7 separate regions of the Homo sapiens genome follow, and regions 2, 3, 4, 5, 6 and 7 are each linked to region 1. Evidence: promoter capture Hi-C in 16 types of primary human blood cells and fetal thymus (Javierre and others, 2016). All regions are on one chromosome and are shown on one strand. Each heading gives the region's core, a stretch centred on a gene start or on the middle of the fragment in contact. The rest is flanking DNA. Distances are from core to core; before and after follow the strand shown.

Evidence for each region. The method cuts DNA at HindIII sites, captures the fragments that hold promoters and counts their contacts. A CHiCAGO score of 5 or more calls a contact.
Region 2: a contact is called between a fragment that was not itself captured here and the fragment with the promoter of SFMBT2 in region 1, in 1 of 17 cell types (erythroblasts). The highest score is 5.1, in erythroblasts.
Region 3: a fragment that was not itself captured here is called in contact with the fragment with the promoter of SFMBT2 in region 1 in 1 of 17 cell types (endothelial precursors); the score reaches 5.4 in endothelial precursors.
Region 4: a contact is called between a fragment that was not itself captured here and the fragment with the promoter of SFMBT2 in region 1, in 1 of 17 cell types (neutrophils). The highest score is 6.1, in neutrophils.
Region 5: a fragment that was not itself captured here is called in contact with the fragment with the promoter of SFMBT2 in region 1 in 8 of 17 cell types (M2 macrophages, endothelial precursors, total CD8 T cells and 5 more); the score reaches 13.1 in M2 macrophages.
Region 6: a fragment that was not itself captured here is called in contact with the fragment with the promoter of SFMBT2 in region 1 in 1 of 17 cell types (endothelial precursors); the score reaches 6.1 in endothelial precursors.
Region 7: a contact is called between a fragment that was not itself captured here and the fragment with the promoter of SFMBT2 in region 1, in 2 of 17 cell types (M0 macrophages and M2 macrophages). The highest score is 7.7, in M0 macrophages.

The regions. Positions count from the first base shown.
Region 1 is chr10:7,408,624-7,412,565 of GRCh38, forward strand. SFMBT2 (Scm like with four mbt domains 2) reads right to left here and starts at 2,411. Exons shown (of 21, transcript NM_001387889.1): 1 at 2,238-2,411. RefSeq lists enhancers at 1-181, 229-308, 2,660-3,580, 3,581-3,942 and silencers at 1-68, 2,285-2,424. The HindIII fragment of the contact is 4,872 bases long and covers 1,994-3,942 here.
Region 2 is chr10:6,777,333-6,781,172 of GRCh38, forward strand. LINC00706 (long intergenic non-protein coding RNA 706) reads right to left here and starts at 1,848. Exons shown (of 2, transcript NR_108074.1): 1 at 1,779-1,848. It overlaps LINC00707 (long intergenic non-protein coding RNA 707), which reads left to right and starts at 2,266. Exons shown (of 5, transcript NR_038291.1): 1 at 2,266-2,555. The HindIII fragment of the contact is 1,230 bases long and covers 803-2,032 here.
Region 3 is chr10:6,712,281-6,716,079 of GRCh38, forward strand. No RefSeq gene overlaps it. Among named protein-coding and RNA genes, the nearest start is that of LINP1, 23 kb to the right of the region's middle. The HindIII fragment of the contact is 428 bases long and covers 1,166-1,593 here.
Region 4 is chr10:6,571,809-6,575,673 of GRCh38, forward strand. All of the region lies in intron 1 of PRKCQ (protein kinase C theta), which reads right to left. Among named protein-coding and RNA genes, the nearest start is that of PRKCQ, 6.5 kb to the right of the region's middle. RefSeq lists an enhancer at 202-371. The HindIII fragment of the contact is 1,165 bases long and covers 1,472-2,636 here.
Region 5 is chr10:6,676,489-6,680,257 of GRCh38, forward strand. No RefSeq gene overlaps it. Among named protein-coding and RNA genes, the nearest start is that of LINP1, 59 kb to the right of the region's middle. RefSeq lists an enhancer at 1,642-2,143 and a silencer at 1,803-1,961. The HindIII fragment of the contact is 809 bases long and covers 2,046-2,854 here.
Region 6 is chr10:6,728,204-6,731,834 of GRCh38, forward strand. No RefSeq gene overlaps it. Among named protein-coding and RNA genes, the nearest start is that of LINP1, 7.4 kb to the right of the region's middle. The HindIII fragment of the contact is 231 bases long and covers 2,216-2,446 here.
Region 7 is chr10:6,654,618-6,658,555 of GRCh38, forward strand. No RefSeq gene overlaps it. Among named protein-coding and RNA genes, the nearest start is that of LINC02648, 38 kb to the left of the region's middle. The HindIII fragment of the contact is 3,991 bases long and covers 205-3,938 here.

The DNA of each region.
Region 1 (3,942 bases), core at 1,161-3,660:
GGAACCGCCGCGCGACCTCTGTTCAGCGGCCGCGTCCTGGCCACGGGCGACCCCTGTCGGGAACCCTGTTCCCGGCTAAGCTGCGTTCCCGCATTCCGGTGGCTCTCACCCGAGCTCGCGTTTGCTGGCTTTCCCTCTGGCTCCTCTGCCTGACCCCGATTTTGTCTCCGAACTCCACTCCCAGATCCTCCCCGCCCTGGAACGCCGACCTTTCCCCCGCACTTCGCCGCCCACTCACATCCCCCGGCGACTGCCCGGCCTCCATGCCCGCCAAGACAAGAAGATGCCCCTCTCCGATGCGCCGAGAGGGTTCCTAAGCCGAGCAAGGGACAATTTCTTCCCCAAACGCTGTCCCCATCCCCCACCTTCCCTAGAGCGCGAAACCCAAAAGTAAGGAAGGCAACCCCTCGCCTCGACCCTACGTGCTTGTCTCCCAGAGCCGCGCGCTCCCGCCCTTCTGCCCCACCCCACCACCACCACCACCACTTTGGTCTTCTCCAAGCTTCGGTCCCGGTCCCCCACCTCCCACCCCAGAGCGGCGTGGAGGAAAGCAGGAGCCCACTATTAAGTGCAGCGCGCCCCCTGCACACACGAAATCCGGCTGGCGTCTGCAGCCCGATTGCACCCAATACCCGGGACAGTTAGTCCTTTTAATAAGCACCTCCTCGCCCCACCTACTCGGGGATCTACCCGCGCAGGATCCAGCACACACAAGGCGAGAGCTAGCTCGTCTCCTAGAAAGACAAAATAAATCACTCCCTCTGCCCTCATGTACTTTACACCACGTGTCCGCAGTTTGTCACGTCAAATCATGGCAGGGTCTGGTTCCAAGACGCACACACACATTCGGGGTGGTTCTCTTTGACACACACACCCAAAAAAACTGCGCACACGCAGGCCTGCACACTAATCCACAGGCACACACGACAGTTGCGTTTCGGTGCCCTGGTCCGGGCCAGGGGCACTTCTCCATCCCTTTCCCCCCTAGCAATGGACTTGACACACAGACTCTAACCACGGAAAAAAAAAACCGGACAGCCCATTCCTTCTTTTTTTCCCCACTTAATTCGCTAAAGCGCTTCCTGGGGTAGCCAAAGAGAGTCGAAACTAAGGGGTGGAAACTTCAGCTGGGTTTTTTCCCACCTCAAAACCTTTATTTTCAGTTTTTAAAAGCCACCTTAGCCCGCCATATTGAAACTGGCACGGTTTCTAAAGACTCCTTCCCCGCAGTTGTGGCGCTTCCAAGAAAACACGAGTACGGATCAGGCTCTGGATGAGTGTCCGGCCACCGAGAATCAGCCACTTCCCACCCTCCAGGATCCCCCAGCTCCCTCCAGCCCCTTCCCACCGCCCCTGGTCAAAATCAATAAATACATCTCGCAGTTCCTACAGTTGCATTTTGGCGGATTTCTGCAAAACATACACACACATACACATACCCACGCACGCATATTAAAAAATAAACTCCAGAACCAGCTCAAGTCAGCAATTTTGAAAGGGGGTCGAATAAGAGGAGACAACCGGAAAGCCCCTAAGTGACAGGATATTACTTTAAAGAGAAAATAATGAACAAAAAGACCATCCTCGCTGGAGCACGCTCCAAAACTACTACTGCCAATTTTATTTCAGTTGCTCAGGCAAATGTTTCCAAGGGAGCGATTCCGAATGTCTGCACGATTTTTACCCCCATGCCGGTCTCCGATTCCCCGTCCTCACCATCTTTTTCTCCCACCCAAACCAAAAGAAAGGGGAGACCCCAGCGCGGAGGAGACGCGGGAGCGCGGGGTAGGTAGCAGCGGCGGCTGCGTCGCTAAAATGAGTGCAGAAACGAGGAAGGTGGGCGGCGGGAGGGGACAGGCTGCGCCCGGGGAAGGAGGACACTTTGCAACTCCGGACGGACTCCCGCACGGCTCGGCTTTTCCGAGCCCGGAGACGCAGGCGAAGGGGACCCGGGAAGCAAAAATGACAACCTGGAGCGCACAGAGGAGTTTGAAGCTTCGCTCAAGTGCAGTCGCTTTCTTCTCCTGCCCTTCTCTTTCGCTCCCCTGCACCCTCCCCAGCCTTCCCCCACCCGCCACCTCCAACCCCAGCTCCCTCAGGCTTCCTTCCTTTTTTTTTTTTTCCTTTTTTTTCCTAGGCTGGAAAAAGCCCCTGACCAGCGCACTCAACCTGCGGGCCGAAGGGCTGCTCTCCGGCCAGCCTGGGCGCCGGGGACAGCAGCCGGCGCGGCGTCCTACCTGGTGAAGTTCGTCCTGCCCTCGGCGTGGACCCAGGCCCCGGTCGCCGCCCGGGAGGGCACCGGCCTCGCTCGCTTGCTCGCTCGCCCGCCCTTGCCCGCTCGCTCCCCGCCCGCCGCCTCCCTCGCGCGCCCGCTCCGGTCCTCCGGCTCCCACTACAGCTCATTCCAATATGGCATCCTCTCTGTGCGCATGCTCGGCGCTCTTTTTTTTTTTTTTTTTTTTTTTTTTTTAAGATTTTGTGTGTGTGTGTATGTGTGTGCGTGCGCGTGCAGCGAACTCCTTCAACGACCTTTTCCAGCGCTTGCAAAATTTCTTAAGCCAATTAGCCTGCGGGACGTGATCGGCTCCTTCCCCAGCCAGCTCCGCGCCATTCCCTGCGCCTAAGCAGGCGGGCACCCCCAGGACCCTGGGACCTTCCACGCCCACGCGGCCTCCTCCCCACCGCGCTCCCCTTCCTCCTTTTTGTGAGCTCCCTCCATACATGATCTGCAGAAAGTTCCCATCGCGGGCGTTTCCGCACACCCCTCCGCAAGGACAACTGGGCAAACTCCCGTTTCCCTGGCTGCGGTTCGTGAGCTGGGTTTCCAATGGCTCAGTCGACCGTGTGCACAAACTTGCGCTTTATCCGCCGGGGATCGCTGGGAGCGGAGATAAATTCAATCCCCAGGGCAATCTTGGCCCCGCCCGCCCCACCCCATCCTGTGCTTAAATAGAGCCTTTCTTGAAGCTGCGAACATTTCCAGGCCCCTTGGGCAGGGCTGGAGGGGCCGAGGAGAGCTATTCGAGGGAAAGGTGCCCCGAGGGGCAGGAAATTAAGTTGGGGCTGCCCGGGCGAGCTGCCAGGTAGCCGTGCTCGCCACGGCGTCTCATGGGGCACCTAGCTAGTGGCGGGCCTCATAGGGCGGGAAAAGAATCGTCGCTCACACCCCAGCAAAACGTGGCCCTCGACGGTCCGTTGGAGAGCCCCGGCGGCCGTGAGCCCCGGGCAGGGCTGGACGTCTGCGGAGCCCTCGGGCACTTTGTCCCGGGCGCCTGGGGAGGAACGCGGAGCTCCCAGGGCCTTAGGTGCAACGGCTGCGCAGAGCCCAAACGAAATGTCCCCAGTGCGGAAAAGCCGGTGACGCCCTGGTAGCAAGACCAAGAGCTTCCGAAGAACGCTGCGCCCTTAACTAGGGGGCCTCGCAGAGATGCCTGTGTGGGCCTGCATTGTATATTTCTGCGAAATAGCGAATGGACACGTTTGCTCAGGGTTTTTATGGTTGCCAAAGGGGGTAAAATTACCCAGTCCCCCAAATCTGTGTCCCATGAATCCCTCTCATAGTACCCCTCTCCAGGGGGCCAAGAGGTCCTCCAGGTCCCCGTGGGTTCGCAGCTCCACCCGCCCTTCCTCGCCCTGCATCCCTAAGGAGAGGTGTCCGCTCTGAAGGGCTAGGGGCCAGCCATGGAGTGAGGGGACCGGGGCTGACCACGCGCGGCACAGACAGAGGTCCTCAGGCGGGCCCTCTCCTGGACGGTGGGGCCGGAGCTGATCTAGAAGAAATACGGAGGGACGTGCCGAGAAGCCGCTCTCCTTCGCCGCGACCCTGGAGAGCGCCTCTCCACCCAAAGGATCTGCCGAGCTGAGAGATCCAGGGCGGGCGTCCGCAGCCGTGAGGCCCCCTGCGCCGCCAGTATGGGAAGATCCTGCCTCCTTACACCTTGG
Region 2 (3,840 bases), core at 168-2,667, 630 kb before region 1:
ACCGTGTTAGTCAGTCTGGTCTCAAACTCCTGACCTCAGTTGGTCCACCCACCTCAGCCTCTCAAAGTGCTGGCATTCCAGGTGTGAGCCACCACGCCCAGCAATTCAGTAAAGTTTAGATTTACTTTGTGAGAAAACACATAGCTAAAGCAAACATTCGTGCAGGGCCTACTTCGTGCCAGGTGTGGTTTTAGGACCTTTATACTATGATTTTATTTCAACATTTTTAGCATCAGCAATCTCATTCTACTAGGTCATGGCAAAACTGGACTAAGAGCTGTGGCATTTTTCTCTGAATCCCATGTTCTTTTCAGAGGGATTACATTACTTCTACAAAATAACACTGTCTTAGTCAATTTAGTGTTGCTATAACAGAGTATCTGAGACTGGGTCGTTTAGAAAGAAATGAGGTCTATTGAGCTCATGGTTCTGCAGGTGGGAAATTTCAAGGGCATGGCGCTGGCTTCTGGCCAGGGCTTTCCTGCTGTGTCATAACATAACAGAAGGTCAAAACTGGGGTAGGCATGTGTGAAAAGGAAGGGACCAAGGAGGGTGACATGTTTTATACCAACCTACTCTTGAGGGAACTAATCCATCTCTGCAAGAACTAATCCAGTCTTGCAAGAGTAAGAACTCACTCACTATCCTGAGAACGGCACCAATTTATCGTGAGGAATCCACCCCTATGACCCAAACACCTCCCACTGGGCCCCACTTCCCAACACTGTCTCTTGCAATGAAACTTCCACATGGGTTTTGGTGAGGACAAGGCACATCTAAGTTGTAGAAAATACCCATAAAAAGCTTGAGAAAGCACATGGATGGATATACATGACTTTGTTTCACCATCTTTGCCCTTTTCTATTGATACAACGATGCTCTTGAGTCTAGAAAAAAGTGCTTCAGGCTGAACGGGTTTCAGATGGCTGTCCACTGGATTTCTGGTTTTACCTTTTATCTCTAATGGGCTCACCCCGCACCTACCTTAAGGCCAGGTTCATCACTGCAAAACACAAATCCAATTCCAAAACACTGGGAAGCAATCAGATTGGATTGTTCTTTTCTTAGGAAAAGAAAGCAAAAACTTACCCCCCCATAAGGCACCACTGCCTAAAACCATCTGTAAGCATTTCTGTCATTTCCTTGGAGGCTTGAGACTCACCTGTGAGAGGGAAAGCATCAACCTCTCCCACATACCCTTAGTTGCCCTAAACGATTCACCCCTGTGTTCCACCTTTAGTAAAAGAAAAGCACGGTGATTACCAGAATTCAGTGCAGAGCCATCCCTTAACAAGCAATGGTTAAGAAACAAGGGAGGGAAGGAAGAAAGGAAGAAAGGAAGGAAGGAAGGAAGGAAGGTAGGTGGGGGGGGGGAGGGAGAGAGAGAAGGAAGAAAGGAAGGAGGGAAGGGAGGGAGGGAAGGAAGGAAAGAAGGAAATGGAAGGAAGGAAGGAGAGAGGGAGGAAGGAAGGAAGAAAGGAAGGAAGGAAGGAGGGAGGGAGTGATGAAGGAAGGAAGGAAGAAAGAAAGAGGGTGGGAGGGAGGGAGAGAATGAAGAAGGAAGGAAGGAAGGCAGGGAAGGAGGGAGGGAAAGAAGGAAATGGAAGGAAGAAGAGAGGGAGGAAGGAAGAAAAAAATGGAAGAAAGGAAGGAGAGAGGGAGGGAGGAAGGAAGGAAGGAAGAGAGGGAGGGAAGGAGGGAGGGAGGGAGGGAGGGAGGGATCAGAAATCATAGCCAGTGAAACCCAGAAAACCGTTAGGCAGGAATTAGGACAATACCTTACTCAGGTTTGCATTCCCAGCATTTAGCACCATATGCATCATGCATCAAAAATGTTGTTGGGTGAATGCTGAGCAACAGCCACACACTGAATAAACCAGGCAGGTTGACGTCACAGGGGAGGGCACAGTGTTCCTGGACTCTGAGTGGGTGGCTATTTTTCATGCCAAGTCATGACAGTAGCATTCAGTGTGGTGGGTAAACACAGTCTTATGAATCTCACTTTTAAAAAACTGGAAGTGCTATAGATAAAAGCTTTCATAATTTTGAGATAATAATGGTAAAAATTATCATTTTTGCTTACTATTTGTGATGGTTAATATTGAGTGTCAACTTGATTGGATTGAAGGATGCAATGTATTGCCCCGGGGTGTCTGTGAGGGTGTTGCCAAAGGAGATTAACACTTGAGTCACTGGACTGGGAGAGGCAGACCCACCCTCAATCTGGGTGGGCACCCAGCTGCCAGCTCAGCTGCCAGTGTGGCTAAAATAAAGCAGGCAGAGGAACGTGGAAGGACTAGACTGCCTGAGTCTTCTGACCTTCATCTTTCCCCTGTGTTGGATGCCTCCTGCCCTCAAACATCAGACTCCAGGTTCTTCAGCTTTTGGACTCTTGGACCTACCCCCCGAGTGGTTTGCCAGGGGCTCTCAGGCCTTCGGCTACAGACTGAGGGCTGCATTATCAGCTTTCCTACTTTTGAGGTTTTGGGACTTTACTGGCTTTCTTGCTCCTCAACTTGCAGATGGCCTGTTGTGGGACCTCACCTTGTGATCATGTGAGTCAATACTCCTTAATAAACTCCCTTTCATATATGCATCTATCCTATTAGTCCTGTCCTTCTAGAGAATGCTAATACAATATTTTTAATTTTTATATCCCACAATAAAACTCAGAAGTAGTTAAGTCAGGCTTAAATGCAAGAGAACGGTTTATATTAATTATTGGCCATAACCAACAAAAAATTTCAGAAAAGTCAGTATCATCATGCTGCCTTTATCCAGCACTGACTTTGTTAAGCCTTCCAGAATCTGTCATGTATGAGATTCAACCTGAAATACATACACGCAACAGGTGCATCTTAGGGCTTTGAGGCCAACTGCAACTCATAGTTGCCAAGAACCACCAGCCCTGAGAAACACCTGAAGAAGAAGATTGGTTTAGTGTTTGGGTCCTTCTATGACCTTGAAGAAAGCACTGGGGAAGACATGATTGTGCCTTCACTGAGTAGCCCCACCAGCCATCACCACTTCATTTCTTACCCACCTTTGTAGTATACTCATTCCTAATTAAGAAGGCTGAGGCAGAGCCAAGGGTTAAGTTAACGCAAGGCTGGTACCTTTCCTAGGCTTGCCAGTCATTTGCACACAGAGAAGACCATAGGAAACTGAAAGAAGAACAGAGAGAGAGAATCTAGGTTTCCTGACAATGTAAATTACATCTTAGTATGAGAAGTTAAACAATATCCATTGTTTTGAACTATTTTTTCCCTTAAATCCACAGTGGTAAGTCCTTTCTCTTTCAAGGACTGTTGATCATCACAGGAAACCGGGACCATCCGGTCAAGTCAGGGCATCTCTGCTAATCTTTAAGTTTATAAACTGGTACAAGAAATAAATAAAGAACCTGAGTTGGAATTGCCGGTTGGTTTAGGCTTATCTTATTTGGAGAAAGTAATAAATTGATTATGCTTTAAGTGAACAGTGGGAAGCGATTGATGATTCAATAACTTTAAATTAAAAGAAGATTTACTGGAAAATTGGCAGTGCTGCAGCAGATTTGAGTCGTCTGTTAAGTAACAGTTAGTGCCACATGCCATGACAAATCCAGAAGCCAGTTTGTGGGGAAAAAAAAAAAAAAAAAAAAAAAAAAAGGGATCCTCTTCCCTGGATATATTTTACTTTTGAGCCCATGAAGAAGATTTGAAGCCAATGAAGAAGATTCGAAGGCACCTTTCAGAAAGGGAAGTGAGTGGGGGCAAAAGAAACCGCCACCATCTGCTGCCTCCCAGATACGATGATAAAAAATATGGCATATTGTTTAGAAGTAAGGACATTGCCCTT
Region 3 (3,799 bases), core at 130-2,629, 700 kb before region 1:
GGTGCTAGGAGGAGAGGGGGGTCCAGGGAGGGGAAAGGGGTGCTGGGAAGGGAAAGGGGTGCAGGGAGAGGAGGGGGTGCAGCGAGCTCCCAGCTCCAGCATTGTTGTCTTAGTCTTTTATTTCATTTTAGTCCCTCTGGGTTGGACGAGGAATAAAGTTAAACATACAGGTTCTTCTGAACTGCAAGTTACACCTTAATAAGACTTAGAGAAATCCAATTATTTTTTATTCTGTGGTTGAAGGGAAATTCATTTCAGTGGTCAGAAGAGGGGCTGAGAGCCAGGAGAGCTGAATTCTGCTCTTGTTTCCGCACTCTTCCCTCATTTACTCCTAATGGCTTAGGTGTGGTTTGCCCTGGAGGCTGGCTTTTTAATTCTAGGATCGTTCCAGCGGCTTTCCAGGCTGAAGATGTTCATTCACTGTAGACCTTCCCTTCTTAATTCATCTGCAGTGGATCTTTGCTACCCAAGTTAGTATTAAAAAGAAGGTTAGTACAGAAAAGTCTATCTTTCTAGGGTGTGCTTCCTAGATACATTGAAGAGATTTTAACTGGAATTTATTCCATAGCTAGAGCCCATCCGTGTGTTAATTTTCCCACGTATATTGTTATTCTCAAGTGTGCAGACCCTTCTTCTTCTTCTTCTTCTTCTTTTTTTTTTTTTTTTTTTGAGTGCAGTGGTGCAATCTTGGCTTACTGTAATCTTCGCCTCCTGGGTTCTAGTGATTATCCTGTCTCAGCCTTCCAAGTAGCTGGGATTACAGGCACGCACCAGCACGCCAGACTAATTTTTGTACTTTTATTAGAGATGAGGTTTCACCATGTTGGCCAGGCTGGTCTCGAACTCCTAACCTCAAGTGATCTGCCTGCCTCGGCCTTCCAAAGTGCTGGGATTATAGGTGTGAGCCACCAAGCCCAGCCCCCTTTCCATTTTACTCCAAATAGCCACTAAGAGGGCTTCTACACTGATTAAATGTGTCCCCACATTTACGGGGTTACCACACAGTTTCGGAAAGAAGGGAAGAAGCCCTCTCCATGGTTCTGCCCTAGAAGTTGAGCACACTACAGGGAGCAAGAGCTTAGAGTTGCCCCTGAAGATCTAAAGCACTGGTGAATCGTGTGTAGGGAAGAAAATACAGGCAGCAACTTCGTTCCACTCTGTGGGAAGCTTTGACTCACAAGGTCCATGGAAAGACCTCTGGCTCTGATCCCATCCCCTTTATCCATAAAAACAGTGGGATGCAGGGTCATTTTTGCCAATGTGGAAGTTGTGGCAGGAGATCTGTCCTCTCTTTTTCATCTTTCTTGTAATAATGAAGGCAGAATATTTACCAAATCCTTGGTTTATACCAAGCCTTTTCATTTCTCCCTCTCAGCAGTACTTTAAGGTAGGTATTACCAGCCATGTCTGCAAATGGGGATCAGAGACATTAATGGTAAAACAATTACCAGCAAAAGGGGATTAGAGGCATGAAGTAACTTGCCAAAGATTACCTGGGTAGAGACTGAATAACTCAAACCAAGGTTGTGGCCCTTTTGCCTACACTGTTAAATGGCAGCACTACTGTGAGGGAGGTCTTGAAGTAACTCATGAAGCTTCAACCAGAGCACCTCGGACAGCTCCCAGCCAATGAAAGGAAGTTTCTGGGTCGAGATGTTTTCCGGACGAATGTGTTGAACCTGGTCCCTTAACTCTCTCCATCACTATTTTGACCAGAACGAGGAAGTGGTTTTTTTCCACCCTTCAACTTTTATTTGAAGTTCCGGGGTACATGTGCAGGATGCGCAGGTTTGTTACATAGATAAATGTGCCATGGTGGTTGGCTGCACAGATCACCCCATCACCCAGGTATTAAGCCTAGCATCCATTAGCTATTTTGAGGAAGGATTTTATTTTATTTTATTTTATTTTGAGAGACAGGGTTTCACTCCTGTTGCCCAGGCTGGAGTGCAGTAGTGCAGTCTTGTCTCACTGCAGCCTCCTTCTCCCAGGCTCAAGCGATTCTCATGCCTCAGCTACCTGAATAGCTGGGATTACAGGTGCATGCCACCAAGCCTGGCTAATTTTTGTATATTTAGTAGAGATGGGGTTTCACCATGCTGGCCAGGCTGGTCTCGAACTCCTGACCACAGGTGATCTGCCTGCCCAGGCCTCCCAAAGTGCTAAGATTACAGGTGTGAGGCACTGCACCCGGCCTGAGGAAGGATTTTAATACCTTAGTTGTAAATGTGACTTTACAGTCTACACAGCACATTTGTTCTCAGGACAGCCCTGTTGGTGGATATTATTATTTTCTTTTAACTGGTGTAAAAAAACTCAGGCACCTGTCCAGTTAATTTACCTACCTTAAAAAGCTATTAAATGAAGAAACAAGAATGTACACTTTAGTCTCGTGTTTGTTCTTACCGCAAAACATGGATATACGGAATTCCCTGGTCGAGTCTCTGACGCCCAAGCCATGGTATTGACACAGAGATGACACCTTCCCCAACGTCCTTGATTTAACCAGGGTAAGCTCTTGCTCTCTTTATGGCAACTTGTTTCTTGCATGCCATAGAAGAAAAAATAGCTCTAGTTTATTTTTTGAACAAAATGGTCATTTGCCAAGAAGTTCTCCTGTCAGAAGTTCTCCAGAAAATTCCAAGACTTACCTGGGAACAAAAGAAAGCCTGCTAGCCCAGAAATGAGAATTTTAATTTTGATCAGCTCTCAGGAGATCTGTGGGAACCTCAATTTGCTCGGTGTCTTTGAAACACTGCAGTCTTGTGTATACTGAGTGGGTGGCCATGGTAGTGTGCCATACACAGGTGCAATAAAAAATAGCTTATCAACTCCTGACTTCAGGTGATCCTCCCGCCTCAGCCTCTCAGCCTTGCCAACATGGTGAACCTCTGTCTCTACTAAAAATACAAAAAAATTACCTGGGCGTGGTGGTGGACATCTGTAATCCCAGCTACTCGGGAGGCTGAGGTGAGAGAATTTCTGGAACCTGGGTGGCAGAGGTTGCAGTGAGCTGAGATTGCAACATTGCACTCCAGCCTGGGTGACAGAGTGAGACTCTGTCAAGAAAAAAAAAAAGGCCAAGCACAGTGGCTCACACCTATAATCCCAGCACTTCAGGAGGCCGAGGCAGGCGGATCACCAGAGGTTGGAAGTTTGAGACCAGCCTGGCCAACATGGCGAAACCCCATCTCTACTAAAAATACAAAAATTAGCCGGGCATGGTGGTGCATGTCTGTAGTCCCAGCTACTTGGGAGGCGGAGGCACAAGAATCACTTGAACCCAGAGGTGGAGGTTGCAGTGAGCTGAGATTGCGCCACTGCACTCCAGCCTGGGCAACAGGTTAAGACTACATCTCAAAAAAAAAAGAAAAAAAAAAGGAAAGAAAAAAAAAGCGTATCAAATTGTCCAAGCTGAGGCTTGCTTGACATGAAGGGCTTCTTGAATGCTTAGCCTAAAGACAGCCTACCCTCCAACAGTGGCTATACTGTCATCTGTGACTTGTTATTTGCATCATATTGTGGGGCTTATTTCCAGAGAACTGCAATTTGAAACTCAGTTACTCTTCCCATCAGCTGTTCCCTCTCATCCTCTCTCCAACAAGAAAAATAAGATGGTGTTTGGGGCCTTTCGGGGGTTGGGGGAAAGGGGAGGGAGAGCATTAGGACAAATACCTAATGCATGCAGGGCTTAAAACCTAGGTGACGGGTTGATAGGTGCAGCTAACCACCATGGCACACGGATACCGATGTAACAAACCTGGATGTTTTGCACATGCCCCAGAACTTAAAGTAACAT
Region 4 (3,865 bases), core at 804-3,303, 840 kb before region 1:
CAAACAAACAAACAAACCAACAAACAAACCAAGAAACAAACAAACAGGAACCAGGTGTGGTCCTTCCCTAAACAGCCACCTAACTAACAAACTTTGGGAACACAGTCCCTGGAGGTATGGAAAGAATACCACCACATCAGAAGCCAAGAGATCAGGGGTCAGCGCTAGTAATTTAATCTGTGACCCTAGATCAAGTTTCTTAACCTGCACACCTCAGCTGGCTTCTCTGTAAGCTGTGAGACCCACCCAACATATGGGGCTTTCTGAATGACTGATTCCCGCGATCCAGGCCCAGGGCATGACCAACGACTGCCTTCCCATCGCTCCCTCTTCCTTCTAGCCCCTGAGCTCATCTGATTCTATGACTTAAAGGAATGGTATAGAAAACTAAATGCCATAGGTATGTAATTTTCTTTAATTTTTATTTTTATTTTAAGTTCTGGGATACAGGTGCAGGACGTGCAGGTTTGTTACATGGGTAAACGTGCCATGGTGGTTTGCTGCACCTATCATCCCATCACCTAGGTATTAAGCCCCACATGCATTAGCTACTTTTCCTAATGCTCTCCCTCCCTCCAATCCCACCTCCCGACAGGCCCCAGTGTGTGTTGTTCCCCTCCCTGTGTCCACATGTTCTCATTATTCAGCTCCCACTTATAAGTGAGAACATAAGGTGTCCAGTTTTCTGCTCCTGTGTTAGTTTGCTGAGGATGATGGCTTCCAGCTCTATCCATGTCCCTGCAAAGGACAGGGATCTCATTCCTTTTTATGGCTACATAGTATTCTATGGTGTGTATGTACATTTTCTTAATCCAGACTACCATTGGTGGGCATTTGGGTTGATGCCATGTCTTTGCTATTGTGAATAGTGCTGTAATGAACATACGTGTGCATGTATCTTTATAACAGAATGGTTTATATTCCTTTGGATATATGCCCAGTAACAGGAGTGCTGAGTCAAACGGTATTTCTGGTTCTAGATCTTTGAGGAATTGCCACACCATCTTCCACAATGGTTGGACTAATTTACATTCCCACCACCAAGAGTGTAAAAGCGTTCCTATTTCTCTGCAACTTTGCCAGCACCTGTTGTTTCTTGATTTTTTAATAATCACCATTCTGACTTGCAGGAGATGGTAACTGATTGTGGTTTTGATTTGCATTTCTCTAATGATCAGTGATATTGAGGGTTTTTTTTCCATGTTTGTTGGCTGCATGAATGTCTTCTTTTAGGTACGAACAGATTTAATGTGTCCCAAACCAAATGATACAGTTTCATGAAATAATTACCCTTCCTACATGAAATGCATCTTAATATTTTCTGTTTTATTCTATTTCATGCTTGTTATCACCCCCAAAATTAATGTCATTGCCCACTAGTAGACTGTGTCTTGGAGTTTGAAAAACTGTGTAGAAGGCCTGCTTTTGTATAGCTAAAACATATCAGTGAAAACAGAACGGAAAATGTTGAAGCTTATGCCCTAAAAATGCTGAACACAGCTGAGATGAACTTCTCTCAAAACGACAAGAACAACAACATTTCTGCTTACTTTCAGGACAGACTTGGCTCACCTCTGAACCCCTGTCCTTTTGGCTAATTCCCATACATCTTCCATCCCCACCCGCGATACCTTGTCCTCTGAAAGCCTTTCCTGAACCTCCGAATCAGGACTTGGTTCCCTTCTACATGTTCTCAAAGCACCCAAGCAATCATCTACATATAGTGCTTAGCACAGCAAACGGCCGATAGTGACAAGTCAATACATGTTAGAATATATTGCCATAGTTTGTTTACTTTTTGATTTTTCCAATAGATTGTACGCTTATTAGGAATTCTTGCCCACAGGGAAAAAATTTCAGGATGACAAGGATTCTGCTTCTGCAGATATTTAAACCACCAGATAGAAATTTTTTTCTTTTAACACTTAGCCGCAGTCCTTTAGGTGTTACAAGGTTAAAAAAAGAAAAACCCAAAAGATGTGTTCTTGATATCAGCTAACACTCCAGTTAAAGGCGAAAAGAGCTAGGCCAGGTGTGGTGGCTCATGTCTTTAATCTCAGCACTCTGGGAGGCCAAGGCGGGCAGATCACTTGAGCCCAGGAGTTAGAGACTAGCCTGGGCAACATGACAAAACACCATCTCTACAAAGTGCACAAACTAGCCAGGCCATGGTGGCATGCAACTGTAGTCCCAGCTACTCAGGAGGCTGAGGCCGGAGGATCCCTTGAGCCTCAGAGGCGGAGGCTGCTGTGAGCTGAGATCGTGCCACTGCACTCCAGCCTGGGCGACAGAGCAAGACCCCGTAAAAAAAAATGCAAAGAGCCAAAGAGCAGACCCCTGGCTGTCTTGTTGTCTTTCCCTCCTAGTTGTTCATGAATTAAGTGCCCAGTGAGGAGACAGCTGCCAACGTATAGGTGAGTTTGCAGTGCAAGCCGAGTGCTGTGAGTTCATGGGCAGGTAAAACTCTCTGAAACGCTGGAGAGAACCTGAATGGCACTTGTATACATTGGTAGATAAAGCATTTAAAGGGTTCCTCCTGTTCTTAGAAAAGGATCAAACTCCTTCGTATGACTTAACGCAGGACAACTCTACGGGACAGTCTGCCCAGGACAATCTGGGTTTGTACCTGTTACCCAAGCTTAGTGATTAATAACGTGCTCTTTCACTCTATAAACAGTCCCCATCTGGAGGATAACGTATATGGTTCACCTGCTTACAGGTCCTATGTGATCTGGCACAGCTGACTCCTCCAGCTCCACCCAGCAATAGCCCACACACTGGCACATGCTCCTTTCTCGCAGCATCACTGCTATCAGAGATCACAATTTTCTTCACTTTGCAAATGGAGAGAATGACACTCCAAGAAGTTCACTGGTTAAGGTCATATGGCAAATTAGGATGGGGAGCAGAGGTTTAAATGGAAGCTGTGATGCTTACTCTGCTCATTTCCACTCATCTGCAAGGCTTAGACTGGACTGCACTGGGATTCCAGACTCACATGCTGCAGGGACATTCTACAAACACTGTTCCTACCTCCCAGAACCCCCATCTGGCTCACTGCCACTTCCCCTTCAGGTCTCAGTTGAGCCGTCACTGACAGCTCTGCGACACCCCAAATCTAGCTGTGCACATAATACCAAGTGTGTCCCCTACTGAAACACACAATCATTCTGCACATATTTGTTCACAACTTGGTATGTGTCAGGCCCTGTTAGAGTGGCTGGGGACACATGTAGGGACAAAATGCCAGCCCTCATGGAGTTTCATGCTAGAGGAAAAAAGAGACAGAAAGGAAACTAGCAAATATAAAACAGAGTTGCATGACATTATAAACTGATACAAAATAGTACAAATATCTCATGAATTCATCACAATTCATTATAATTTCCTATTTGCCTGACCACATCTCCCTGTGGGTTTTGCAGCACGGTGTGTGATCTGAGGCTTGCAACAAAGGCCTGGTGAATTCAATAGCAGTTTCCCTTTCCATTCTCTCCATTGTCCTGGGAACTTGTCCTGCTCTGATAACATACAAAAGATAATTATATCTGTAACTAATCTTCTAAAAAGCATCTGTCCCACACATTCAGGGTTATTAACACTGATGCCATGTTCACTTTATTCTCAACAACTACTCATTTCTGAATCATAAGGTTCCTCATGGAGGTGGAGATAACCCTACCTACCGGGACATTCTGTTTATGTTTTAGGGACTGTCCTTTCCATGGCTTCCCTAGTCCCTCAGGTGCTGTGTGAGTTGTATTTCCTCCATTAATTCTACACTAGAAAAAGGTGTATATGCTCAAGCTGGGATAGGAAATAAACAATGAACTCAGGAGTAGCATCAGCCCAGAGATCCCTGCCA
Region 5 (3,769 bases), core at 1,200-3,699, 730 kb before region 1:
AAAACCATAAAAACCCTAGAAGAAAACCTAGGCAATACCATTCAGGACATAGGCATGGGCAAGGACTTCATGACTAAAACACCAAAAGCAATGGCAACAAAAGCCAAAATTGACAAATGGGATCTAATTCAACTAAAGAGCTTCTGCACAGCAAAAGAAACTTCCATCAGAGTGAACAGGAAACCTACAGAATGGGAGACAATTTTTACAATCTACCCATCTGACAAATGGCTAATATCCAGAATCTACAAATAACTTAAACAAATTTACAAGAAAAAAAATCAAAGAACCCCATCAAAAAGTGGGCAAAGGATATGAACAGACACTTCTTAAAAGAAGACATTTATGCAGCCAACAGACACAAGAAAAAATGCTCATCATCACTGGCCATCAGAGAAATGCAAATCAAAACCACAATGAGATACCATCTCATACCAGTTAGAATGGCCATCATTAAAAATTCAGGAAACAACAGGTGCAGGAGAGGATGTGGAGAAATAGGAACACTTTTACACTGTTGGTGGGACTGTAAACTAGTTCAACCATTGTGGAGGACAGTGTGGCGATTCCTCAAGGATCTAGAACTAGAAATACCATTTGACAGCCATCTGATTACTGGGCATATACCCAAAGGATTATAAATCATGCTGCTATAAAAACACATACACACGTATGTTTATAGTGGCACTATTCACAATAGCAAAGACTTGGAACCAACCCAAATGTCCATCAATGATAGACTGGATTAAGAAAATGTGGCACATATACACCATGGAATACTATGCAGCCATAAAAAAGGATGAGTTCATGTCCTTTGTAGAGACATGGATGAAGCTAGAAACCATCATTCTGAGCAAACTATTGCAAGGACAGAAAACCAAACACCACATATTCTCACTCTTAGGTGGGAATTGAACAATGAGAACACTTGGACACAGGGTAGGGAACGTCACACATCGGGGCCTGTCGTGGGGTGGGGGAAATGGGGAGGGATAGCATTAGGAGATATATCTAATGTAAATGACGAGTTAATGGGTGCAGCACACCAACATGGCACATGTATACATATGTAACAAGCCTGCACCTTGCGCACACGTACCCTAGAACTTAAAGTGTAATAATAATAATAAAATTCTTTTATGACAATTTTAGACAAACAGTGGAGGTTGGAGAATTGTTTTTTTAAAAAGGCCCCTAAAGAAAATATAGCTAAATGTTGATAGTGATTGTTATAAAGAACATTTTTCTAATTTTTATAGTTCTACATTTTTAAACTTTTTTGAGCATGTGTTATTTTTGTCATGGAAAAAATGGACACTGTGATGGCCTTTTTATTCACTTCTCTTAGCCTGGTATATGTGGAGAAGAATTGGTCAGCTTATGCAATGTGTAGAAAAACTTTGGGTACTAACAAATAAAACTTTCCCAGGAAACAAGTTTTGAAAATGATTTAACTCTGAGGTTTTAAAAACACTTTAAACATTCCCTTTGCAAAAAAATTCATTGAAAACAAGCCGATGGTCTTAGGAAATATTCAGTTTAAACATTTACAGAACAAAAATTGGATCCTATTTTAAAATCATTCCTTTATAAATAAGTGTCTGAAATATTTTGGAATCCAGCAAATACATTCAAAAGCATGTTTGATTAGTTGGCTTGGGAAAGGAAGAAATTGGGCCTGTAAAACAAACCTTGCTTTAGAAATCCATGAAGTTGTCCCTCCCTACATCAAATTTCTAAAAGCAAGATGCCTACCACGAAATATGTATGGTTTTCAATTTGAGGCTGAAGTTATATAGAACAATGCTGCAAGTAGGCCACCCTGACTTCAAGGTCAGCGAAATTAACATCCAGATTGCACCGTCAAAATTCGTCATCAGCGATCATCATGCGCCCCCTTCTGGCTCCATTACCACACTCTCATTTGTTCCCGTTGCGTTGAAATGAAGGGAAAACAGGCTTTTGGACCTGGGAAAATCTTCCTTAGTTTCTTTATCTGCCCACATTCTCCTTTGTTCCTGTTGCATGGAAATGAAGGGAAAACAAGCTTCTGGACCTGGGAAAATCTTCCTTAGTTTCTTTATCTGCACAATGAGGAGTTCAGATCAAATCTTTCCTAACACCCCTGCCATATACAAAATTCTGAGCTTATTATATTGCAACATAGAATTTTGGAATTGCTCATAGACACAAATGCCTAAGGAACTTTCAGCAAAACTCTGAAACAGAAAAAGTGTTTGAAATTATGTAGTTTTTATCTTCGGCATTTTGAATGTGCATAATCATAATAAGAATTAGTCACAATTGTTCTGTTTCTTCAACTCTGTTCTGCACAGATAGGGGATCACGCTCTTTCAGATTTCAGAGGCAACTTTACAATTATCCTCTCTTTCATCCTTACATTTCTTTATATTTTATTTTTCCACATTTTATACTCTTTATCTTATTTATTTTCCTTTTCATTCTTTGTTTTCTTGTTTTCTTTCTTTTCTTGACTTTTTTTTTGTCTTTTCTTCATTCCTACCTTAGGTTTTATGAAATTAGTTGTCCCTTGGGTATAATAAACACCATAAAAGTACTGGCCCTCTTGAGTTAAAAGAGAAGATATTATTTTTCACAGCCTGAAATTATAACCACTTAAATGTTTGGCAAATTGGCACCATCTCCTGGCCACTTAAAGTGCCATCTGAACTATGTAGGTCCTACAATGCTTTATTTCCTTGCCAGTCATCTGAGTGTTCATTTTGCTCTATTTACCCTAAAAACTCCTCCCATAAATAGATCTGACATTTTGTGAGCATCTCATTCTGCTTAAGGCCTGATATTTACACTATGAAAGTGTGGCTTGGAGAAAAGCTTTCTGGATTTTCCGCTTGTTTTATTTATATAATCAAATCAAGACACCATAAGGAAAAGTCACATGGCTAGTCCTGAATTTAGGAAGCATATGACCCTTCTCTGTTCCCTCTGCGTCCACACATCTAGAGAATTATTGGGCCATTAAGACGGGTTTACACTTCTGGAATATCCACCTGTTTAGAGAGTCAGAAATGTGGGCATAGCTGAGGGGAAGGGATGGTCTAAATGCCTTCTAGGTGATGGGGGAAAACAACTTGAGCAAAAACAAAAACAACTGAGCTCTCTGAAAAGTTCAATAGCTAATTCTCTCAGTCTCGTGGGTCCTGGCATCAAAATGAAACAAAAGAAATTAGAAAAATTATTGGGAAATGAAAACTTGAGGACCTTATTATCTTAGCTCCACAGAAAATACAGGGTAGTGGTATATAGGTTAATTTCATCAAGAAAAGATAGCAAGATTTCTTGAAATTCAGAAAAAAGCTCATAGTCTTCTAGAATAGTCTAGAATTCACATCACACATACCTCTTCTTCTACACAAGCTTCATTACTGAAAAGAATTGCTAAGCTAGATATTCTTAGACTATTTCTCAGAAATACACTTGATAGAAGAAGCGATAGATCGATAACTGTGTGTGTGTGTGTGTGTGTGTGGAGAGAGAGAGAAATAGTGAAAGTTTAATGACAAATACTTTCATCTGGATCTTTCTTTTAAAGAACACATTTTTACCTTTAACCTGCCAAGAAAATGTTCTAACTCCTAGGGGCTCAATGGTTACTTTTGTTTACCAATGTCAAATTCGACATGTGCTTCTTATGATTTATATCTAAAGTCTAGTGCCATGATCACATTGAGAAAGAAAAAAATACCTTTGAAATAACCAGTTTAAGATGTCCCATGCCGCCAGACCC
Region 6 (3,631 bases), core at 1,081-3,580, 680 kb before region 1:
GAGGGCTGAGAAGGAAAACAAGAACCTGAGAAATGAATGCTGAGAAGTGTTTATTGTATCCCAAGGACCACGGACCCCTGTGAAGGGTCTCAGCAGGGGAATAATCATAGTTGAATTGAGTATGATCAGTATCACCATGTGGCTGGATTACAGTCACATAAGAGGAATAGAGAGGTCCACATTGCAGATGGTGTTGTAACCCAGGTAAGAGATGGTAGTTGCTTAAGATGGGAGGAGAGACAGAAAAAGAGTGGATTCATTTGGGAAGTATTGAAAAGCAAGAAAAGATGGCCCTTGGTGCTCAATTACATGTGGGGGTAAAAGGCAGTTATTCCCAAGCTCAGCCTCGTACTTAAGTGGGAGGTGCTCATGTCTGGGAGAAGGCAATAGGGCCGTAGGTAGGTGAAACTATCTACATTTATCTCAACATCTTGGAGATAAGACAATTACAAGCATACTAGGACATTGCATTTTCTTTCACGTTCAAAGCTGTTGATTGCAACACTGTATCATCGAGAGGAATTAGGAGACTGAATGGACATCTGAGGGTATCTTGATGCAATGGACAGCAGTGCAACCTTTAAGTACACCTGCAATTAATGTATTACAAAGACATTCATAACATTGTAAAGTAAGATAGCAGGTTGTAGAACATGACAAAAGATATGACATAATTTTGGTTTGAAACTTAAGTAGATGTTTGATGACCATAAACAGACTCACATAAAACTACTAACAGTGGTTCCCTTTGGGTGATGGGATTAGGAGGTAGAGAAAAAAAAAGGGGAGCCAAAATAGGACATTCTATTTTGGGAGAGATGCCTAAACACACACATTAAATGGCTTTAGAAGGACTTTGAAAGACATTAAAATGCCCTATTCAGTAATGAGTTGCTAGTATCTTATGTTGCCAGTTTTCAAGTCATTGCTGTAGAGAAGCAGATGGAAATTCCATAGAAAAGGGCTAGGCAGAGAGGTGGTGAACCGAAGCAGGTCAAGCCCTAGCCAAGTTCCCGTCCAGATTCCAGAGAAGCCCTGTGGTCTGGGTGACTGTGCACATCTGTGTGACACACCCATGCAACACTGCTCTGAGTAGAGGGACTCTAGCCAGGTTTGACTCAGGATGCTGCTGACTTTGTTGAAGTCAAACTGTTGGCTGAAAACTGCCTGTGGCTACAGAAGAGGTGAGCAAGAAGAGACAGGAAAAAGACACATTTAGAAAGAGTCAGATCTGGGATTTAGGAGCTGGGAATTATTTAGGAGCTGGGAATTATTATTTCACGAAAGAACTTGGGTTGAAATCATCTCTGGATTGGCAGTGACTTTCAAAACTGCACAATCGACTTAGACATTTCAACAGAGCACACCTTCCTCGTGGGACTTCACTACCTCCTGTTTGCAGCTGAGCTAGAAACACCCAAAGAAATGCTTTTTCTTGCAACATTCTGTATAATTTTATTCTGTTTGGAATTTTCCATCATCTGTAAAGAAAATAAATAGCTTTCTGTGAGTAGTGGGCTCGGGGTAGTATAACTGTAATCAGCCTCAAACCTTTCAGGTTTTTCTGCCTGTCTTTTCATTCCAGTCGGAGGTCCTGGGTTATGAGCATGTCCTTTCTTTGTATATTGATCTTGGTCTGTAGCAACTGGCTGATAAACTCAAAAATCTTGTGTTTATCATCTGCCAGATTTTTTGTTGTGAGGTTTCAATTTCTTTCCCTTTACAAGCTGTTCAAATGTTCTAGCTATAGAGACCAGATGGTTTTTCTATTCCCTTGATGTTTCCTTTATGCGGATGATTGTTCAGAGATGTTCTAAGGCTGTATCAGGATAGGATAGTTTCTATAGTTACTCTAGTTAGCATCACTGTGTGTATGCCTTTGCCAGCACGGGCGAATATTCAATCCATCAAAGTCCGGAAACCACTTCAAATAAATGGCCCTGTGTGTTTTGAAATCGGGTGTGGAAAGCCCAGGTTTCAAGTAACCATTAATAAATAATTACCCTTTTGTTAATGTATCCTGCCAATTCCCTGATAAGAAAGAGCTGATGGATGATGTAGCTGGTTCATAGCTTCCTGTTTATTAGAATGTGTTCGTCTTGTACTTTCTGCAGATGGAAGCTTTCGGGACCACATGAGAAGTGTACTATGTCCACACCACATTTAGTACTTGGTGGGTAATCAAAATTATATAGGGGCAAGGCTTTTCTCCATAAGCTTTAGCCCGGAGCTTAGCCTGTAGATGCTCATTGAACATGTGCTTGCTGTGGAAATCCCTGACTGGTGATGCGGGAGATGGCTTTGGATGCAGGTGATTGACAGAGGACAACAGCAGCAGAAGGGGTGGAATCACCTCATGATCCTGACCTTGTGTATGGCCTGAGATAGCTTGGGGTTCCAGATATAGATAGTGTTCAGTAGTCAGTCAGCAAAGAATATTTCAACAAGCTTGGAGAACGGTACTTAGCTCATACTGACCACTTGCCCTGTGGCCGAAAGCCACCAGGTACACACCTGTAGTTGAACAAGTTGGGTTTATTACAAGTTGCAGTGAGACAGCACACACAGCTTGGGAACTGCAGGAAGTCTCAGAGTAAGAAGATGTTGGGAATGACCTACTACCAGGCTTGGGCTTTGGTTGGGTGATTTTCGGGAGGGTCTAAGGAAGCAGAGGTTTTCTCTAGTCGGGAGTTGCCAGAGGCCAGGGGTGATTCTGTGAGGGGGTATCTGAATACATCTGTCATCTCTAGGGAGGACAGACTAGAGGGAGACCAAAGCTGGAACTGGGAAAGATGCAGCAGTTGCTTACTTAGCAAGAGTGGAAGATGTGTGGGATTTAGCATGATCTGGCCTGAGTGGACATTCTCGGAAATTATTTCTGTCCAACTGGAGAGCACGTGGCTTAGCTGGAAGCATCAGGCCAGCTCATGATAACACGGAGGCCGTGATGTGAGGTCCTATTTGCTCCCTGGCATGGGCAGAAGTTTGTTTTCTTTCTCTGATGTCACTGATGCAGTCCAGAAAGGCGCTAGAGACCTTGCTCCTGATTCCACTGCCTTGCCCTTTGCCTCGTCTCTCTCTGCCTTAAGAAGCATCTTACCAGCTGGGCACGGTGGCTCACGCCTGTAATCCCAGCACTTTGGGAGGCTGAGGTGGGCGGATCACCTGAGGTCAGGAGTTTGTGACCACCCTGGCCAACATGAAGAAACGTCGTCTCTACTAAAAATACAAAAATTAGTCAGGTCTGGTGGTGCATGCTTGTAGTTCCAGCTACTCAGGAGAGGCTGAGGCAGGAGAATTGCTTGAACCCAGAAGGGAGAGGTTGCAGTGAGCTGAGATCATGCCACTGCACTCTAGCCTAGGCAACAGAACGAGATTCTGTTTCAACAAACAAACAAACAAACAAAAAAACAAGTCTTACCTGAGGCTGATGAATACGGAGAGCCCTGTGAGCCTCACCTTCTCTTCAGACAAGGATGGATGGGACCTCAAGGTCCATCAAGGTCAGACGTTGACGGTGCCTCTCCTCTCTGCATGCTGAGAGAGTGACCTGCCCGGGACTCTGTCCGTTTTCTGAAAATTTTATTTCTAATTCATAAATAATAATTGCATATATTATATACATGATGTT
Region 7 (3,938 bases), core at 950-3,449, 750 kb before region 1:
TAAAACATACTGCGGCTGCCATGTTGGTTGTTCTTACTGTTGGTCTCAGAACGCTTGCTCTGGAGGAAGTCAGCTGCCACATTGTGATCAGCCCAAACAGAGGTTTGTGAGATGAGGAAATAAGCCATGTGAGTGAGCTTAGAACTGGAGCCTACAGCTTCAGGAACTTCATGGCACTGCAGCTCCAGCTAACAGGTTGCTTGAAGCTTCATGAGTGACCCTGCACCAGTACCAGTGAGATTAGCCAGTCTTGTACTCTTGACCCACTGAAACTGTGAGATAACACTTGTTGCTTTAGTTGCTCAGTTTGGGGCACTCTGTTAAGCAGTAATAGATAACTGATAGAATGGCCTATTGTAACCATTCCTGTGCAGAAAGGCTGTCCTGAGCTTTGAATAATTTCTTCAAATCAGTGTGTTTCTCTGAGCCTTAACTCCCATCGGGAAGAGTTAGCCTCCATTATTTAAGGAATAGGGAAGGAGAAGGTGCATAAGACTCAGCAATGTGGGTTTCTTTCTCCATTTTGTCCATTTCCCTCACTAGAGGTTACCATTATCACTTGGTTAATATATTAGTCCACCGGGGCTGTGATATGGTTTGAATGTTTGTCCCCTCCAAATCTCATGTTGAAATGTAATCCCCAATGTTGGAGGTGGAGCCTGGTGAGAGGTGTTTGTGTCATGAGGGTGGACTCCTCATGAATGGCTTGGGCCATCCGCATTGCAATGAGTGAGTTCTTGCTCTGTTAGTTCATGTGCAATCTGGTTATTGAGAAGAGCCTGGCATCTTCCCCCACCCCTTGCTCCTGCTATTGCCATGTGATACACCAGCTCTCCCTCTACCTTCTGTCATGACTGGAACTTTTCGGAGCCTCAGCAGGAAGAGATGCTGGTGCCGTGGTTCCTGGACAGCCTGCAGAACTGTGAACCAACAAAACCTTTTTTCTTTACAAATTATCCAGTCTCAGGTATTTCTTTATAGCTATGCAAACATGGACTGATGCAGGCCTGCCATGACGAAATACCACAGGCCGGATGGCTTACACAACAGAAATTTATTTTCTCACTATTCTAGAGTCTGGAAGTTCAAGATCAAGGTGCTGGCAGGGTTGGTTTCTCCTGAAGCCTCCCTTCTTGGCTTGCAGATGGCCACCTTCTCCCTGGGACCTCATATGGTCTTTTCTCTGTGTGCATTTCTGGCATCCCTCTGTGTGTCCTGATCTCCTTTCCTTATAAATTCACAAGTCATATTGGATCAGGACACATCCTAACTGGCCTCATTTGGACTTAATGACCTCTATAAAGGTGCTGTCTCCAAATACTGAGGTACTGGGGGTTAGGACTTCAACGTATGAATTTTGGGGAGACAGAATTCAGCCCTTATCAGTTAAAATAGTAGATAACACAAACACTCATTGATAGGATGCTTTTCAGATTTGGGAGTTACAGTAAAATATCCCAATATCACATTAAAATTAGTGATTGGATCTCTTCCTTGCCAAGCCCCCATTCTTAAATGGGGAGAATGATTCCGAAAGTTCTTATCTTCTGACCTAGGAGGGGAATGTGGAGGGAAGGATGAAACAGACAAGCCCATCTTGGAAAGAGGGCAGGAGGAGGATGTATCCTCCCAGCCACCATAGTCTCCTGGCCCAATCTTCTCAAGATGCAAATGAACAGAAGATCCCTGGAGCTGCTGAGCCACAGAGCCCAGAATCATCTCCATCAATATTTAAGCAGGAGAAGGTAACACTCACCATGTGTGCCAAAGTACAGCTGGGATTTTTGTTGGGACAGATCAGAACCCTCAGTGGAATACTCTGAAGGCTACTGAGTTCATTTCATTTAGCTCATATAATGTGAACTTGCATTTTATATGAGTAAATTGTGTGGCTTCTATTTATCACAGTAGGTTTTACTGGTAAGGCTTTACAATATTTGTAGGTTTTGAGGGGGATTTTGTAGACTTCTGGACAGAGAAGGGAAGGGATTAGGAGATGACCTTTGTTGTGCCTCTCTGCCAGACTCCAGGGATAACTTCAGGGACAAAACTCGAGGGATAAAGATAACTCTGTGTTTTTGTAGATTGCATCCAAAAAGAAATTTGTGGGCAGAAACTAGGTGCAGGATATATTAATTAATTTACTATTATGTATCATTTGAAGGATCCTATGTGAATCCTCGGGAATCTAGTACAAATATTGTTCACACTTTACATATGAGGAAATAAGGCTCAGAAACATGGGTGGCTTACCCACAGTTATATAAATTAGTGAATGACTTCAAACAGGTTTTAGGACCCAAATCCCATGCCCTTTGCACAACACCATACCCACCCCCCCACCTTACATTTCTCATTGGTGACTTGCCCACCTTGTCCATCTTTTAACCCTCCTGCTGAGTCCGTCTACTCAAACATGAAAACTCTGCTCCCAGATCTCTTTTGTCCTTTTATTAATTGCTATGTTGTCAAGTGTCTTCAGCCCTTTCAGAAAGCAGAATGTTTATTCCTTCAGTCACTCCTCTTCTTCTCTCCATTCTTTTCCTTTCATGGTGGTTATTCTGAAGAATCTGAGATGCCTGCTCTTGACTTGACTGGCATTTAATTGTAGAACATTAGACCTCTGAGAAAGGAACACAGAGATCAACTGATCAAGCCCTTCATGTTGGAAATGAGGCATCTGGTCTCCATAGAAGCAAAGATATGAAGCCTAGGTCTTTATAAAGTCAGAGAAAAACCACAGGACAAGATCATAGTTCTTCTGAATTCGTTCTGTTTTCTTCATCAACTTCTGCTTATCAATCCAAAATACTTGGCATCCTTCTTATAGTCGGTGACTTCCCCTCATCAAACCAAGATACTTCATTTCCTTCTTTTGAAATCCAGGGACCTTCTGCTAAGTGGAATTGGTGTTGCATCTGAGGATAAACACTGACTTCTTTACAGTCTTGTGCCTGTGTGAGAAAATTTCCCTAGGTATCAAAAATTAAGCTAGTGACCAGTGACCCAGTCCAAGTACCATCTGAGAATTAAAAAATAAATAAATAAATCCAACTAATTAACATATTTATTCTATTTAAACACACAGTCATCCTCCATATCTGTGGATTTCACATCTGTGGATTCAACCAAATATGGATTAAAAATGTTTGGAAAATGTTACTCAGCCTCACAATCCTACTCTGAAAATTCAACTGGTTATAGTTTCCATCCATTTCCAAAATTTTCACTTAGGGAAAATATCTGCTAATTCAGCAGAATACTTCTCTCCTTGTGTCCTCACCTTATTTGTGTAGTTCACTCTCCATCCACCCAGTCCGTGAGTTACTAGCTATTCTTGCAATGGTTGTAGTGGCTGGTGAACATTGATCATATTCTCATTTAAGTTATTTATTTTCTCATATTGCCTATATTAACAAGAATTATGAGGAAAGTGATGATTAGTTTATGGTATCGGTATGAGCATAATATTAATTATTACTACGATAGCTAGCACTTATGAAGGAGCACTATGTTCATGGCAGTAGCCTAAGCGTATTGTGTTAATTCCAGTCCTCTAAGGGGATACCACTATTATCCCTGTGTTATAAACAAGGAAGGTAAACACCAAGGGCTTGAGTAACATTGTGAAACAGAAAATGACAAGTCCACACTGGTAAAGTCTCTGCGGAAAAAGTCTTATTCCTGTGCCATTATAGTAGAAGATTTTACATATGGCAAAGATGGAACCAAATGATCTGATGAGAGGCAATTTCTGTAAAGGTACTTATAGGTTTCATTATATGTCATTGTAATCTTACAGAATATCTGGGTATATCACCTAATCTACAAAAATGGTACAAATATCTCTGCTTTATATCATTGTCTCCAGCTAAAAAGGAAACAAGATATCACCTGTTTGGTTTGTTAGTTGAATTTTGCTAGGAAAGAGACTTTTG